Linked DNA regions of Homo sapiens: region 1 is linked to region 2. Evidence: promoter capture Hi-C in 16 types of primary human blood cells and fetal thymus (Javierre and others, 2016). All regions are on one chromosome and are shown on one strand. The core of a region is centred on a gene start or on the middle of the fragment in contact, and the rest is flanking DNA. Distances in the headings are between cores, read along the strand shown.

The links. Contacts are between HindIII fragments. The CHiCAGO score rates a contact against its expected background, and 5 or more counts as called.
Region 1: a contact is called between a fragment that was not itself captured here and the fragment with the promoter of ZNF471 in region 2, in 1 of 17 cell types (total B cells). The highest score is 7.1, in total B cells.

The regions. Positions count from the first base shown.
Region 1 is chr19:36,838,555-36,841,712 of GRCh38, reverse strand. It overlaps a transcript of ZNF790 not described here. Among named protein-coding and RNA genes, the nearest start is that of ZNF790, 1.7 kb to the right of the region's middle. The HindIII fragment of the contact is 2,456 bases long and covers 651-3,106 here.
Region 2 is chr19:56,505,862-56,509,289 of GRCh38, reverse strand. ZNF471 (zinc finger protein 471) reads right to left here and starts at 1,435. Exons shown (of 5, transcript NM_020813.4): 1 at 1,370-1,435. The HindIII fragment of the contact is 1,838 bases long and covers 25-1,862 here.

The DNA.
Region 1 (3,158 bases), core at 629-3,128, about 20 Mb after region 2:
ATGGGATTTCGCCATGTTGGACAGGCTGGTCTTGAACTCCTGATCTTAGGTGATCCGCCTGCCTTGGCCTAAAAATATATATATATATTTTTTGAGATGGAGTCTTGCTCTGTTGCCCAGGCTGGAGTGCAGTGGTGTCATCTCAGCTCACTGCAACCTCCATTCCCCAGGTTGAAGAGGTTCTCATGTCTCAGCCTCCTGAGTAGCTGGGATTACAGGCACGAGCCACCATACCCAGCTAATTTTTGTATTTTTAGTAGAGATGGGGTTTCACCACATTGGCCAGGCTGGTCTCAAACTCCTGACCTCATGCGATCCACCTGCCTTGGCCTCCCACAGTGCTGGGATTACAGGCATGACCCACCGTGCCCAGCCTGTTCCTTCCATTAATCTATCTTTCTGTCCTTCACCAAAAACACACTGTCTTGATTACTTAGGGCATCTCAACCTTGGACCATTATTTGGGACTGGATAATTCTTTGTTGTGGCAAGCTATCCTGTGCTTGTAGTGTATTTAGCAGCTTCCCTGACCTCTGTCCTCTAAATGCAAATTGTACCTCTCCAGTTGTGACTACCAAGAACTTCATACTGTGCTGTATATCTCCTGGAGAACAAAATCACCTCTGGTTGAAAAACATTATGGTAAAGCTTTGAAAATATTAATAATATTTTAAATTCCTTTTTAGATAGTTCCAACATCTACATCATATCTTTTTCTTTTCTTTTAATTTTTGAGGTAGGGTCTTGCTTTGTTGCCCAGGCTAGAGTGCAGTGGTGCAATCACAGTTCACTGCAGCCTCAAGCTCCTGGGGAGATCCTACCTGAGTCTACCTCTATTTGTTTGTTGTTGCTTTTTGCTTTTATGTCTTGAGTGTCATGATTTTTCTTGCCTTTTCATGTGTCTTGTAATTTGATGTTGCTGAAAACCATACATCTTTAGGACAGTAGTGAGCAGAAATTAGTTAACATAGCAGGTCTGAGACTACTTATCCTTAGAAAGGCCTGATATGCGAGGTTAGTCTTTGGCTTGCATCTAGAACTTGAATTTCAGATTGGTTCCCACCTTCCTAATAAGTGGCTTACTATGCCTAAACTTTTTGTACAAACAGTATGGTTTATGTTAAACACCCGCTTTCCTTCTGGGAATTTGAAATTCTGGTATGTGTTAGGCACAGACTGCCTATGTGACCAGCCCCCAATAAAAACATAGGGCACTGAATCTATAATAAACTGCCCTGATTGGTAACATCTCACATGTATTGTCACAACTCACTGCTGGGGAACAAATAAATCCCATATAAATTTACTGGGAAAGAACCCTTCGCAGTGTGCACCTGGTTTCCCCTGGACTTTGCCCCATGCGCTTTTTTCTTTACTGATTTTCTTTTGTATCACTTCACTGTGAGCCTCCCAGTGAATCATCAGAGCTTGGGCGTGTAGTGGTTGGTCTTGGGGTCCCCTGCCAGTAGTACCAGGAAAATGATGTTGATGGCTGGATGGGCATACCTTTCCTTCTGTAAGGCCTTTACTATGGGGTTTTCGGTTAATCCAGTTAGGAGTTTAACAACTAATCAAGACAGAAAATTTGTACAATTTGATTGCATTTATATACATTTCACAGCAAGATTAAAACTTTTTTTTCTTTTTTTGAGATGGAGTTTCGCTCTTGTCGCCCAGACTGGAGTGCAGTGGTGTGATCTTGGTTCACTGCAACCTCTGCCTCCTGGGTTCAAGCGATTCTCCTGCCTCAGCCTCCAGAGTAGCTGGGATTACAGGCATGCACCACCACACCTAGCTAATTTTTGTATTATTAGTAGAGACAGGGTTTTACCATGTTAGCCAAGCTGGTCTCGAACTCCTGACCTCAGGTGATCCACCCTCCTCAGCCTCCCAAAGTGCTGGGATTACAGGCGTGAGCCACCGCGTCCAGCTGAGAGATTAAAACTATTAAAGAGCCAAGATATTATTAATACCCTAAAGATCAGCTGGAGCTGGAGCTGGGTATCAGAAATGATCACACAGGTTATGTGCAGTGACTCATGCCTGTAATGCCAGTACTTTGTGAGGCCTACTTGGGAGGATCACTTGAGCCCAGGAGTTCGAGACCAGCCTGGCCAACATGGCGAGACCCTGTCTCTATAAAAATTAGCTGAGTGTGATGGCACACACCTGTAGTCCCAGCTATTCTGGAGGCTGAGGTGGGAGGATCACTTGAGCCAGGGAGGCAGAGGTTGCAGAGAGCCTAGATCGTGCCACTGTACTCCAGCCTGGGTGACAAAGCCAGACCCTGTCTCAAAAAAAACAACAAACAAACAAACAAAAAGAGAAATGATCACATAGAATGGGCATTTGTTCTTGAGATACCAACACTTGTGTGGAGTTATACTGAACTTACACATTTTATGCACTTCAAGTATTTTCTGTTTCACAATAAAAAAAGAAACAACTATTTTAGTTACCTGATAAGTTTGAAAGTACTGAAAAAAATTACTCCTCTGTCAGAAAGTTTAGATGTAGATTGAAATGATGTACATCTAAAAGAGAAGCAAATGAAAACTGGCAAGTGTGTACTTCAGCAAAAAGAATGGCATGAATGGAATTTACAAAACAGTACTAATGTTACTATAAACATTAATTGAAACCAAACACTTTAAGGGCGATTGGAGGATGGGAATAAGGTATTAGGAAGAGTTCTCATGGATTCCCAGACAGGGTACCCCTATAGGGCTGGGCATGTAGCTGTGTCCCATGGATCGTTTCCCCTTCGTTCTATCCCAGGCTGGTACTTGTGGGACAAGAGGTGTCCACCCAGCCGGGCCGAGGCTCGGGCAGAGACGGGACAGACTCGCCACTCGCTTGGCACAGTCTTGTAGGACTTTCCCGCCATGCCACATAGGTCAGAGGCCCACGCAGCGAGCTCCTACTGAAAACCATCGCACCATCCCCCCGGGGCATTTCTGCAGTGTTCCAGGCTCTGGACTACATTTCCCAGGGCCGTCGGGACCAAGGTTACTTCCAGCCTAAGATGGCCTGGGCTTACTGTCCTGTTCCCAGGGCTGGGAGCCTTTTGCAGAGGTAGGGCAGCCTGCATGCCTCCGCTGAAGCTTCCTAAACGCGGCCTGGAATTCTGGAAGCTCTCGGCAGCAGATGTGAGCGGT
Region 2 (3,428 bases), core at 186-2,685:
TCCTTTTGGGTTTTTATGGAAGCTTCATAATGTAGGCATGACTGGTTAAATCACTGACCACTGATGATCAGTTTAACCTGTGGCTCCCTTTCCTTTCCCTGGAGATTGAGGGATGGGGCAGGTAATCCCAACCCTCTAATCCTGCCTAGATTGTTCTTGTGACCATCCCTTACCGTGATCAACCTACAGGCTGCCAGCCCACCAATCATTAGCATGCAAAAAGACACTTAATACTTTGGAGATTCCAAGGATCTTAGAAGTCGTAAGCCAGGAAACATAACTTTGTCCTATACTTTGATCGCCTCCCTCTCTCTCACAAACTCATAACAACATAACCTAGTCTCACTCTTTGGACTCTCACAGTTTAGTCTCTTTCTCTCTCTCATACACACACACCAGCCTCTCAAGGAGCCTCACATAATGACTGGTCTTTCACACACAGCCACGTGCTCATCTCTCTCACACTCACTGGTCTCACGCTATGTTGTCTCTCACACACGAACACACCCTGGTCTCACACTCTGGTCTCTCTCAGTCTGTCAGACACACATAACACGGCCTCACACACTGACGGGTCTTTCACCCAAAACACCCATTTCTCACACTCACTGGTCTCCCTTTCACACATTAACATACCACAGTCTCACACTCTGTTCTTGCACAGTCTAGTCTCGCATACATGGTGATTCTTCTCTCTCTCGAACACACACCGGCCTCTCATTGAGCCTCACCCACCGACCGACCGGCCTTTCACACACAGGCACACGCCCATCTCTCACACTCACTGGTCTCTCACACTCCATCCAGCCCGTCTCACTCTCTCACACGAATACATCCTGGTCTCACGCTCTGGACACCTGGTCTGTTACACACTTACACACCCACACACCTCGCAACCTCTCACTGAGCTTCACACGCTCTCTTTCAAATGCAGGCACATCCCTATCTCTCTCACACTCACTGGTCTCTCACACTGGCCCGTCTCGCTCTGTCACACACGAACATACCCTGGTCTCACACTGGACTCTCGGTCTGTCACACACACACACACACACACACAGAAACCACACCCTCTCACGGAGCCTCACACTCTGACAGATCTTTTACACACAGGCACACCCCCATCTCTCCCACAGCTCACTCCAGTGGTCCCGCCGCCCCAAGCCGCCCCGAACGCCCAGCAGCCCCGAGCCGCGGCCTCCGCCCCGCAGACTCGAGTACGCGCGCCCCGCTGGCCTCTGGGAAATGTAGTCGTCCTGGGGACAGAGGACGCGGCTGGGCCTTCGCGACCCGCGTCGGAGCCGCCCGCCTCGCCTGCCCTTCCTGGCCCAGCCCTCGAGCTCGGACTCCCAAACCACCCAAAACAAACCCCCGGCCTCGTCTGGCACCCAGACGCTCTCATCCGAAGGACTCCGTGAGTCGACGCTGGAACCCCCCATCGCGCAGGCGCCAGCCTCTCTCCAGGGGTCGGACGAGAGGGGCGGAGACAAGGCGTGGCCTAGTGTTGAGGGGATTGTCCTCGGGCTGCTGAAGGAGTGAGAGGGACCTTAGAGCAGAGCGGGCGGTGCCTGCGCAGTGCGTGATTACGCGAGCCGGGCGTGGCCCAGGGTTCCGGCGGGTAAGAGCAGGAGTGTGCGCAGGCGCAAAGATTGCGCTCTCCCCCTCTCCTCGCCTAGAGACCAGAAGCGTCCCTAGTTACTAGTTCCTGGGGCCTGGGAGGGAAACGCGCGACGGCTGAGCCTTCGGTGTGAGTACGCGTGGGGCTTTGTGACGCTGTCTGTGCCTCTGTGATCGCGATGTCATTCGGAGCGCGGCCTTCTGTGCCAGTCCGTGGGAGTGTCATTATCTTTCTGTGTTAAGCTTATTTTGGAATAAGACAGCGACGAGGAACCCCGACCGTGTTGTGACTCTGGCGAATTAATACCTCTTTCAGCTGCAAATGGGAATGTCACTGATCAGAGGCAGTGAATAACACGACGTTTTTGGAACCAATCTGCTAGGCTTGAACCGCGTTCAGCCCCTTAACAAAATGGAAATGGTCCCCGTTTTAGGGGACTAGCCCTGACTAGGAGAACTGTAGAATTAGTATTGGAAGGTGAGACAAATAAGGAAAAGCAATTCAGGGGGATACAGCAGAGAAAAAAAAATCCCTGTCCTCTTATTATGTAATTTACTTTGAAGCGGAGAGAGACAAGCCACAAATTCATGAGTTAGATAAACAGTCTGATGAACAGTAAAAAGGGCTATGGAGAAATATAACTCAGAGAAGGTTGTATCGTATACATTTTTTCTATTGTCTCTTATAATGTCTTAACATGTCAAAAAAACCTGTCTGCAGCAGACACCAGCCAGGTGACCGCTACTCCAATTCAATTCTGACGCTACCTGGAAAACATCAGATCCTACAGGTTAGACAGCTCAGTCCCAAAAGACTGTCCCCCACTTCCCATGCCAATTCCAAACTCCAGATTGTTGTACCTGTGTTTCAGAGAGATGTGCTATAAATTGGGGCTCCCACAGCCGGCTCCTTGGGTTCCATTAGTTTGCTAGAGCAGCTCACAGAACTCAAGGAAACACTTATGTTTACTGGTTTATTATAAAAGATATTTTAAAGGATACAAATAGCCAGATGAAGAGACATGTAGGGCAAGGTCCGAGAGAATCCCTAGTGCAGGAACTTCTGTGCCCGTGGAGTTGGGGTGCACCACCCTCCCAGCACGAGGATGTGTTTTTGTCTACCTTCTTGGAAGCCGCTTGAACTCAGGCCTTTTCGGTTTTCAAGGTTTCATTATGTAGATGTGATTGATTAAATCATTGGCCACTGGCGATCAACTTAATTTTCAGGCTCTCTCTTTTCCCAGAAGTAGAGGGTGGAGCTGTGAGTTCCAGTCCTCTGAGCACATGGCTGGTTCCTCTGGCAACTAGCCACCACTCCCCCCAAATATTGGGATTATCTTGAGAGTTTCCAAAAATCACCTCATTAACATAAACTCATGTGTGGTTGAAATACTGTCTTTCACCTTTATGGCTCTGGAGCTGTTCTGGAGCTTTTTCAGGAACCAGGAACAAAAGGCCAGATATTTTAACAAAAGATACTTTATTGCTGCAGTCATTTAGGAAATTAAAAGAGCTGTAGGAACTGAGAGCCATGAACTGTACCTTTCTTTCTAACTCCACATTCAGTGATGTCATATTGGTAGATTGAAATCCACCACAAGGGGACTATTTACAGTATGGAAATACAGTCTACATCGCTAAAGGATGGAGATACATTCTGAGAAATGGGTTCTTAGGCAATTTCCTAAGAACCTTGTTGTGCAAACATCATAGAGTGTACTTACACAAACCTAGATTGTGTAGCCTACTACACACCCACACTCACTCAGACTGGGACAACTTAGACATACCAGTTAACTTACTGTGCACAT